2 separate regions of the Homo sapiens genome follow, and region 2 is linked to region 1. The links are contacts of gene promoters, found by promoter capture Hi-C in human tissues and cell types (Jung and others, 2019). All regions are on one chromosome and are shown on one strand. Each heading gives the region's core, a stretch centred on a gene start or on the middle of the fragment in contact. The rest is flanking DNA. Distances are from core to core; before and after follow the strand shown. Region 1 holds the start of SHMT1 (serine hydroxymethyltransferase 1). Region 2 overlaps ALKBH5 (alkB homolog 5, RNA demethylase).

The links. The method cuts DNA at HindIII sites, captures the fragments that hold promoters and counts their contacts. A contact is called where the count stands out against the background at its distance.
Region 2: a fragment that was not itself captured here is called in contact with the fragment with the promoter of SHMT1 in region 1 in 1 of the 25 tissues and cell types used here (heart left ventricle).

What each region holds. Positions count from the first base shown.
Region 1 is chr17:18,361,799-18,365,627 of GRCh38, forward strand. SHMT1 (serine hydroxymethyltransferase 1) reads right to left here and starts at 1,752. Exons shown (of 12, transcript NM_004169.5): 1 at 1,574-1,752. RefSeq lists a silencer at 1,377-1,846. The HindIII fragment of the contact is 16,638 bases long and covers 1-3,829 here.
Region 2 is chr17:18,188,872-18,195,402 of GRCh38, forward strand. ALKBH5 (alkB homolog 5, RNA demethylase) reads left to right here. Exons shown (of 4, transcript NM_017758.4): 2 at 6,084-6,164. Among named protein-coding and RNA genes, the nearest start is that of ALKBH5, 8.3 kb to the left of the region's middle. The HindIII fragment of the contact is 6,402 bases long and covers 1-5,736 here.

The DNA.
Region 1 (3,829 bases), core at 502-3,001:
AAGAAAATTGGGAATCTTAGGGACATCTTCATTAACATTCAGTAATACCTGGTAAGTCCCCCAGCCAACACAGCTCACTGCAACATCAGTCATTACAACATTGGATATTTCTGTAGAGGCACTGTTGCTCATGTGTGGCATGATCCTCAACGTCAGGGAAAAAGACCTAGTAAGTGAAGTCACCTGCAAGGTCACCAGCCTCCCCATGCCTCCAAATCTTACCTGGGCCTCTGTCACATAAGAGGATCCAGCCAAGGATCTGCTCAGGGAACTAACTTGTTGCACATCTTCTATCTCACACACATTTTGTGTTCTCTTCTTTACAGAAGAGGAAATTGAGGCCCAGGGAGCTAACTTGTCTAAAGCCATATAAGAGCCAGAATCTGAACAATGGTTTCTCTTCAGTTCCAAGGCCTTGTCCCAGGACATTGCACTAAATAAAAACACAATTACCCACTTCCGTTCCAAGTTCCCCCAAGTAATAAATTTACGTTATTTCTTTTCTTTTTTTTCTTTTCTTTCTCTCTCTTTCTTTCTTTTGAGATAGAGTCTCACTCTGTCACTCAGGCTGGAGTGCAGTGGCGTGATCTCCGCTCACTGCAACCTCCACCTCCCGGGTTCAAGCGATTCTCCTGCCTCAGCCTTCCGAGTAGCTGGGATTATAGGTGTGTGCCACCATGGGCAGCCAGGTTTTTTTGTATTTTTAGTACAGACGGGGTTTCACCATGTTGGCCAGGCTGGTCTCCAACTACTAACCTCAAGTGATCCGCCCACCTCGGCCTCCCAAAATGCTGGGATTACAGGCATGAGCCACCGCGCCCGGCCTACAATGTTATTTCTGCAAGAACCTAAACTGGTGTTTCCAGTCTATTCTCTGGGTAACTGCCCGATTGAAGGCCCGCATCTGTGCTGACCTCAGCTGGACCAAGGGTCACTTAACTCCCGGAATCTCGAAGCCAAGGCACCGGGCCAAGAACTTCACAGTGCAACATTTGTCTCCTAGAACAGGGGGTGGCAGATTGCGGGCAACAGGAAGAGCTCATTCCCCACAGGGATCTGGTGGCACGGGCCAAAAGTGGAGCGACCCTGCGCGCAGCCTTTAGGGGCGCAGGCTTTGAGAACCCGGGTTCTATTCCGGGCTCTGCCATTTAAGTTGCCTCCTTTCTCAGGGCCCCACCACCTTCCTCACCTGTAAAATGGGGGAAACAGTAGCACTTGACTTGCAGCTTTGTTGTGAAGGAGCTAGGATTGTTTAAATCGAAAATGCTCAACGAGAAAAGTGTTCAGTGGAGAGCTACTACTCACATCCCCGATAAGCCTTCGCATTCTTGCCAAAGGCCACGGGCCGCCACCCCATCATACCGAATGTGCCTGGAACTGGGGCGCTGCGGCTGGCCGCCGCCCGATCCCCAGCCCAGGCGCGACCCAAGCGCTCCCCTCCCGTCATTGCGGCTGCAGAGGGTGGGGTACGGCGGGGGACAGCGAGGACGCCGAAGCACCCCCCGGGCTCTGGGACGCCGCGGCCCTCGGACCCGAAGCCGCCCACCTACCGGAACACGGCCCGCGCACGTACCTAGCGACGCCTCCGTCCTACGCCGCCGCCGGTGCCACCAGTCCCAGACCCGCTGACCCAACGCCCCGCGCACCGCCGCGGGCCAGCCACGTGACCAGCCGCTCCAACCCCAAACCCCGAACTTGGCGCTGGACCGCTCGAGCTCAGGAAGGTGCACTCTGCGCGCCAGGCTTGGGCTTGGCCCCGCCCCCGGAGGCGCCCAATCAGAGAGCGCAGCCAAGCATGGGCCGCCACCAAACGCACCCGCGCTATTGGCTGCGGCGCAGCGGCGGGCAGGGCCTGTTTCTCCGGGGCGGGCCGGAGGCCGCGTAGTGCAGCTGCGCACCTGGGGCAGGGACCTGCAGAACTGACCCGCTTTGGCTGCAGGGCTGGTGTGTGGACCAAGATTTCCAGGAAGACTACACAGGGCCTTCCTCACTTAAGCCTGTCGCTTGGGCCGTGGGATTATGAGTGAATTTTGTTCATGGTACTACTTTTAGTTTGCAGGGTGGTCATTTAAAGTAGGACAAATGTGCGTCCAAACTGCAACATTATTACTCTGTAGGTGTATAATCCAAGAGCAGACACTTTATTATTATTATTTTTGTTATTTTTTATTTTTATTTTTTTGAGACAGGGTCTCACTCTGTCCCCCAGGTTGAAGTAGAGATGGGGGTCTAACTATGTTGCCTCCCAGGAGGCGGAGGTTGCAGTGAGTCGAGATCGCGCCACTGCACTCCAGCCTGGGGGACGGAGCGAGACAACGTCTCAAGAAGAATAAAATAAGATAAATAAAATACTGACACACAATAAGGACTCAATGAACATTACCTATTGTTAAGAATGATAAAAACCGGGGCCACATGTCAGGACCACCTGAGGCTGCGTCATAAATTTTTTTATTTGTCAAATGATAACAATAATTATTATAAGAATGATAAAAACCGGGCGCAGTGGCTCACCCCTGTAATTCCAGCACTTTGGGAGGCCGAGGCAGATGGCTTGAGCCTAGGAGTTCAAGACCAGCCTGGGCAAAATGGTGAAACCTTGTCTCTACAAATAATTTTAAAATTAGCTGGGTGTGGTGGCAGTCGCCTGTAGTCCCAGCTACTTGGGGGGCTGAATGGGAGGATCACTTGAGCCTGGGAGGCAGAGGTTGCAGTAAGCAATGATCTTGCCTCTGTACTCCAGCCTGGGCAACAGAGTGAGACCCTCATCATCTCGAAAAACAAACAAACAAAAAATACAAAAAAAACTTTTTTTTTTTTTTGAGACAGAGTCTTGCTCTGTCGCCCAGGCTGGAGTGCAGTGGCGCGATCTCGGCTCACTGCAAGCTCCACCTCCCGGGTTCACGTCATTCTCCTGCTTCAGCCTCCTGAGTAGCTGGGACTACAGGCCTCCGCCACCACGCCTGGCTAATTTTTTTTTATTTTTGAGACGGAGTCTCCCTCTCTTGCCCAGGCTGGAGTGCTGTGGCGCGATCTAGGCCCACTGCGAGCTCTGCCTCCTGGGTTCATGCCATTCTCCTGCCTCAGCCTCCCGAGTAGCTGGGACTACAGGAGCCCACCACCACGCCTGGCTAATTTTTTGTATTTTCAGTAGAGACAGGGTTTCACCATGTTAGCCAGGATGGTCTTGATCTCCTGACCTTGTGATCCACCTGCCTCAGCCTGCCAAAGTGCTAGGATTACAGGCGTGAGCCACCACACCCGGCTAATTTTTGTATGTTTAGTAGAGATAGGGTTTCACCATATTGGCTAGGCTGGTCTTGAACTCCTGATCTCAAGTGATCCATCCTCCTCGGCCTCCCAAAGTGCTGGGATAACAGGCAAGAGCCACTGCGCCTGGCCAACATAGTGAGTGTTTTTGTTTTTTGTTTTTGTTTTATTTATTTATTTATTTGAGATGGAGTCTCGCTCTGTCACCCAGGCTGGAGTGCAGTGATGCGATCTTGGCTCCCTGCAACCTCTGCCTCTCTGGTTCAAGCAATTCTCCTGCATCGGCTTCCCGAGTAGCTGGGACTACAGGCGTGCACCACCATGCCCAGCTAATTGTTCTTTTTGTTTGTTTGTTTGAGACGGAGTCTCGCTCTGTCGCCCAGGCATGAGTGCAGTGGCTCGATCTTCGCTCACTGCAATCTCCACCTCCCAGGTTCACGCCGTTCTCCTGCCTCAGCCTCCCGAGTAGCTGGGACTACAGGCGCCCGCCACCATGTCCGGCTAATTTTTTATATTTTTAGTAGAGACAGGGTTTCACTGTGTTAGCCAGGATGGTCTT
Region 2 (6,531 bases), core at 1,286-3,785, 170 kb before region 1:
ACCTGGCCAACATGGTAAAACCCCATCTCTACTAAAAATACAAAAACTAGCCGGGCATGGTAGTGTGCACCTCTAATCCCAGCTACTCAGGAGGCTGAGGCAGGAGAATCACTTGAACCCGGGAGGCGGAGGTTGCAATGAGCCGAGATCGAGCCCTTGCGCTCCAGCCTGTGCTGTAGAGTGAGACTCCGTCTCAAAAAAAATAATAAAAAAAAAAATTTCAAGGCCGGGCGCGGTGGCTCACGCCTGTAATCCCAGCACTTTGGGAGGCCGAGGTGGGTGGATCACGAGGTCAGGACATCGAGACCATCCTGGCTAGCATGGTGAAACCCTGTCTCTACTAAAAATACAAAAAACAAAATTAGCTGGGTGTGGTGGCGGGCGCCTGTAGTCCCAGCTACTTGGGATGCTGAGGCGGCAGAATGGCACGAACCCGGGAGGCGGAGCTTGCAGTGAACCGAGATCATGCCACTGAACTCCAGCCTGGCAGCCTGGGCGACAGAGCAAGACTCCGTCTCAAAAAAAAGAAAAAGAAAATTCAGAGCTGGCTGGCCAGTTGGTGGATAGCCTTCACTGATACAGTGCTAGCTCTCTGGGGGATATAGGTTCATCTCTGCAAATCTCTTTCATGGGGCTAGTGGGTGTACGTGTGCCCTTTGGTGAGGCCAGCAAGGCCCCCTGGACAGGCTTGCTACCAGGAAACACAGATGGGCTTTTCTTCCTACCGCCTCCACAACAAAATCCAGAAAGTTTGACAGCAGACTTGGTTGGAGTTACAGCACCACCATTTTAACTCGTTGACTTCGGGGAAATTAAGCTTTTTGAGGCCTCAGTTTTCCTCATCTGCAAAACCAGTCTAATGATGCTATAGAGTTGTTATAGAAAGTTGAATCTTTGTCATCTATTGAATGCTTGAAATTTAGCTAAAAGTGTCTCAGGAGATGGGCTACCTTCTGTGTTTAGTACTGTCTATCTTGGTGTGTACAGAATTGGGACTTGGCAGGTTGACCTTCCCTCTGGATTCAGAAAGCCCCAGGACTTCTTATAAAGTTAGGCCATGGGTCGTCTTGGAGGCTTGGGTCTGGTAAATAATTGAGCCTGAGCTCACAATCCTGCCCCTGGGTCCAGGTGGCTGGTCTGCTGCCCCCAAAAGCCTGACCTTCTTGGTCCTGTGGGTCTGTCAGTAAGGCAGGTAGCCATAGCTGGAGAGAGACAGTCACCAGGCTGGGATCTTGGACAGTCCCTCCATCTCTGGTTCATCCTGGCCTAGGCAGGGCATGGAGTAGATGGAAAATGGTGGCCATCTTGGAAATGTGTCATAACAACTCAGTTTCCAAGACCGTCCCCTAGAGGAGAGATGTACAGTCCTGCATAGTTTCTTTAAAGAATTTTTCAGGGCCAGGTGCGGTGGCTCATGCCTGTAATCCCAGCACTTTGGGAGGCCAGGGCGGGTGGATCACCTGAGGTCAGGAATTCAAGACAAGAATGGCCAAGATGGTGAAAGCCCGTCTCTACTAAAAATACAAAAATTAGCCGGGCGTGGTGGCAGGCACCTGTAATCCCAGCTACTCGGGAGGCTGAGGCAGAGAATTGCTTGAACCCAGGAGCTAGAGGTTGCAGTGAGCCAAGATTGCGCCACTGCATTCCAGCCTAGGCAACAGAGTGGGACTCTGTTTCCGAAAAAAAAAAAAAAAAAAAAAATTTCAGACACCTCATTTAATTTGCACCTAATCTTCTGAGGAGGGGCTTGCTGTGATCTTTGTTTTGCAGAGGCAGAAACAGGTTCTAAGTGGTAGAATAGTTCAGCTCAACACACATTTCATTTAGTGTCCACTGTGCAGGGATGAGTAAGGCCTTTGAAGAGCTTTGTCTTGAAGGGAAGACACAATTTCCACAAGGCCAGATGGAATAGCAAAGAGGCATGAGAGGGTGTGGTTGAGCAATGTAGGGGGAACCCAGCCTGGGCAGTCAGGGAAAGGCCCCCAAAAGAGGAGATAGACATGTCAGCTCCTTCGAGAGTCACTCTGAGGTATAGGACTAGTGGGTGACATTTGCAACATATACTGGTCAGTGCCTCTGGGGCTGGGGCTGGGGGCTCAGCCCAGAGAGGGAGCAGGCAAGCCAGATGGCATAAGGTTATTTCCTCTTCTCCTTTCCCTGTGAAAACAAAAAAGCAGGAGGTCCTGGAACTTTTCATGCCAGCAGTAGGGCTGGACCCAAGGGCATATTAAGTTGCAAGCTGGCCGACTGAGACTTTCAGACAATTTATTTTGTAGCAAGTAGGTTCCTTAATAGTAAATAATACCCTGTGGTCTCTGCTCGACATTTTGTGAGATTGGCCAGGAGAGCTTCCCTTAATCAGGACTTTGAGCTCATGTTGCCAGAGCAGCCGGATATTCTGAGGAAAGGGTCAGTGGGCTGTGTCATAGCTGCTAGGAAGTTCTAGAAGACCAGTACTAATAAGCCTTCCAGGTTGGGTCAGTGCCAAAGTCATTTTTGTGGGCCTGTGCAGCCCTACCTCCATACTAGTTCTTCCAAGGCCTGGGCTCCGTGGCAGGAACCTGACATGGCTTATTGTTTGTTCTAGAGCCCTTTGGGGGATGGGGTCAGGGAGCATGCGGGCAGTCAAGCTTTGACAAACATCTGGATTTGCTCCAGAACTGCATTAAGAAAAGTGGTTCCTTGTTGGAGATGGGAAGTCAGGGCCCTTGGTTATGCATATAGCCAAGTCAAACAGATTGATAACACTTGTCAATGGCAGGGAAGGTTGCCTGTAGCCAGCACTGCAGATTCAGGACTTAGAAACGTGCCTCTGGGGCCGAGCATGGTGGCTCACACTTGTAATCCCAGCACTTTGGGAGGCCGAGGTGGGTGGATCACGTGTGATCAGGAGATCGAGACCAGCCTGGCCAACATGGGGAAACAGTCTTCACTAAACATACAAAAATTAGCCTGTAGTCCCAGTTACTTGGGGGTCTGAGGCAGGAGAATTGCTTGAACCTGGGACGTGGAGGTTACAGTGAGCCAAGATCATGCCACTGCACTCCAGCCTGGGCAACAGAGTGAGACTCTGTCTTTAAAAAAAAAAAAAAGTGCCTTTGAGACCTTTGACAGCTCTTTGGGAAAGTATTGTGTGTCTATATGGGACAGTCTTGCAGTCTAGACCCCCATTCCCCCAGTGTGGAATGATAAAAGCATGGGATGAGAACTAGAGTTCCTAGCTCTGGAAATGGGGCCCAGGCGGCCCCCACTACTGGCAGATCCCTGCAGGGGGAGCCCAGACCATGTCTCTTTGGCAGATGCTGAATCCAGGGCTCTGGCTTGCCCCAGGATAGTCCAGGGCCCTCTGACTTTTGTCAGAGTGCTTAGTAAAGATTGTAGGGTGTCAGGCACCCTGCATTATCTGACTTAATTCTCGCAATACCCCTGCAGGTAGGCCTCTCACCACCCCTTTCCAGGAGTGTCAACCAAGTAGTCATATAATGCTGTTTTTCTGCCTGGAAGGGAGGAGGCCCCGTTTTTAAAATCTTGTAATCTTAAAAACTTTAATCTTGTAATCTTTAAAACTGTCCCCATTTTTAAAATCTTGTAATATTAGTAGCAGCAAAAGAATAGCTAAATTATAAAGCATAACAAAATGAATACCCAAGAACCTACTGTTCTCCTTATTACAGATGAAGAAACTGTACAGGTTTTTAGGTTCAGCATGTGATTTAACAAAGGTCACAAAGCTAGTAGGAGACAAAGCTCACATTTGAACCCAGGTCTCTTCAACTCACTAACTCCTGTGTGGTACTTCTCACTGTGGGCTGATGGGTATTAATAGGTATTATGAGAGAAGGTTCTTTGGTAAGTGCTCAAAGTCAGTGGGTTCTTTTGCTGTAGTAATTCTCATGTGCTTTAAATATATTAATGCTTTTTGAAACTCTAATCAGTATTTTACAAATTGATTTCACTGTAGACATTCGTCCACTGTCTTTTTCTTTTTTTTTTTTTTTTTTTTTTTGAGACGGAGTCTCACTCTGTCACCCAGGCTGGAGTGCAGTGGCACTATCTCGGCTCACGGCAACCTCCACCTCCCAGGTTCAGCGATTCTCCTGCCTCAGCCTCTGCGATAGCTGGAATTACAGGCACCTGCCATCATGCCTGGCTTATTTTTGTATTTTTGTAGAGACGGGGTTTCACCATGTCGGCCAGACTGGTTACGAACTCCTAACCTCAGGCAACATGCCCACCTTGGCCTCCCAAAGTGCTGGGTGGGATTACAGGCGTGAGCCACCGTGCCTAGCCTGTCTACTGTCTCTTATGGGACTGGTGTTCATGGAGAAAATTTTGAAAAATTCTTGTCTAGGAGCAGCTTGAGGGAGAAGGTGGATCTATAAAATAAAGGTTTGGGCCGGGCGCGGTGGCTCACACCTGTAATCCCAGCACTTTGGGAGGCCGAGGCTGGCGGATCACGAGGTCAGGAGTTCAAGACCATCCTGACCAACATAGTGAAACCCCATCTCTACTGAAAATAACAAAAATTAGACAGGCGTGGTGGGGTGCGCCTGTAGTCCCAGCTACTTGGGAGGCTGAGGCAGGAGAATCGCTTGAACCCGGTAGGCAGAGGTTGCAGTGAGCCGAGATTGTGCCACTGCACTCCAACCTGGGTGACAGAGTGAGACTGTCTCAAAAAAAAAAAAAATTAAATAAAATAAAGGTTTGTTCTATCCCCAGCATGAGCTCAAATCAGATTTCCAAATCAGAGGTGCTTCCTTAAGGCTGAGCCTGAAGCAGTCTGGCTTTTTATCTCTTGTTGGCTCTTGCATCCAGTTATTAGAGCTGAGGTTTGGCCAGCCTGGCCATCTTGAGGGGTCCTTCCCAGGCCTGCAGTGTTTTTAATAGTTAAGTTTGTGTCTGTACAACTAGCCTTTGAGAAGGGAGCTGATCAGCAGCCATGAGAGAAGGGTTTGTGGTACAGGGCCAGGTAGGGAAACTAAGCCATACTTGTCCTACTAGGCTTGTGGCTGAGTTTCTGGGTGTGTAGAACTGCTGCAGCTCAGTAGAGTAACTTGGAGTGGGAGTATCTTGTGGCTGCCATGCTTCCAGTGATAGCATGTGAGGGGTATAGGAAGCTCAGAGCTTGCTTCCAGAGTTTCAAATTGGAATGACGCTAGCTGAGAAGAGGACAGTCATCTACCCACATTAGTTGGTCTCTGAGCGGTTTTAAAAGTCATGTAACTTGTTGAAAATAAACAGATATCTGAGTATGATGGAAATCCTTTTTTTTTGGGCGGGGGGCAGGGGGTGGGGGTCAGTGGTGGGGACAGAGTCTCGCTCTGTTGCCCAGGTGCAGTGGGCGTGATCTTGGCTCACTGCAACTTCTGCCTCCTAGGTTCAAGCGATTCTCCTGCCTCAGCCTCCCAAGTAGCTGGGATTACAGGCGCCCACCACCATGCCTGGCTAATTTTTGTATTTTTAGTAGAGATGGGGTTTCGCCATGTTGGCCAGGCTGGTCTCGAACTCCTGATTTCAGGTGATCCGCCCACCTCGGCCTCCCAAAGTGCTAGGATTACAGGCATGAGCCATCACGCCCAGCCGGAAATTCTTAAAATATTCAAACACAACTGTCTTCAAAATTTTGGATCCCCCCAAATGGAGACTTCATGTAGATATTCTATTTTGGAATGAGGCAGTCCTAGCTCTCCCTGGTGACTCAGTGCTATCAGTGGCTGCCTTGGCTTTCTCTACCTGCTAAATGGAGGGAGAATGAGGAGGAGCTACAGTGTACTCTCTGGAGTACCCTTTTAAAAAAGGGTTCCTGGCCTGTTCAGGGAGAGTCTTGCTTCCAGCCTCTGCCTTAAGTGGCCAAGGGGTCTCCTTTGTGTCATACCAGGTTTTTCCTTGAGTATTACAGTCTCTTGGCAAAAGCATCCTGGAACTTAATATGATATTCCCTTCCATGTAGATCCTTGAAACTCTCAAGTAATGGGTAGAGAGCAGCCGTAAGACCTAGGCCATGTTCCTGTCCTGTTATATCCCCCAGGAACTTTGGTTGTCTGTCTACTCTTCATGGTCACATGTTCTGTGTTTCTTTTCAGTGGATATGCTGCTGATGAAATCACTCACTGCATACGGCCTCAGGACATCAAGGAGCGCCGAGCAGTCATCATCCTCAGGAAGTAAGTGCCTTGATGTCTGACCTTCTGCCTCACCTGCAGGCCTGTCTGGAGATGTAGCTCTGGGTCCACTTAGAACTCAGCTCCTATGTATCAGTGGCATGGCAGAGTGGAGAGCAGAACTGTTAAGTTCTCTTTTTATTTGAATCCTGTGAGGATAAAGTTGTTTTGTTGTTTTATCAGAAAATTAAGTACTCTATTTAGGGAGTTTAGGACTGAGCAAAAGCATATACGCCCAATATTTGTGGGTATAATCTTGAGACAAGATTTGGGCAACATTCTTCCAAACCTCACCCCACCCCTTAGCCTCTATTCCTCACCTCCTTCGTTCTTATTTGTTACACGTACTCTTGGTGATTATTTTTAGACT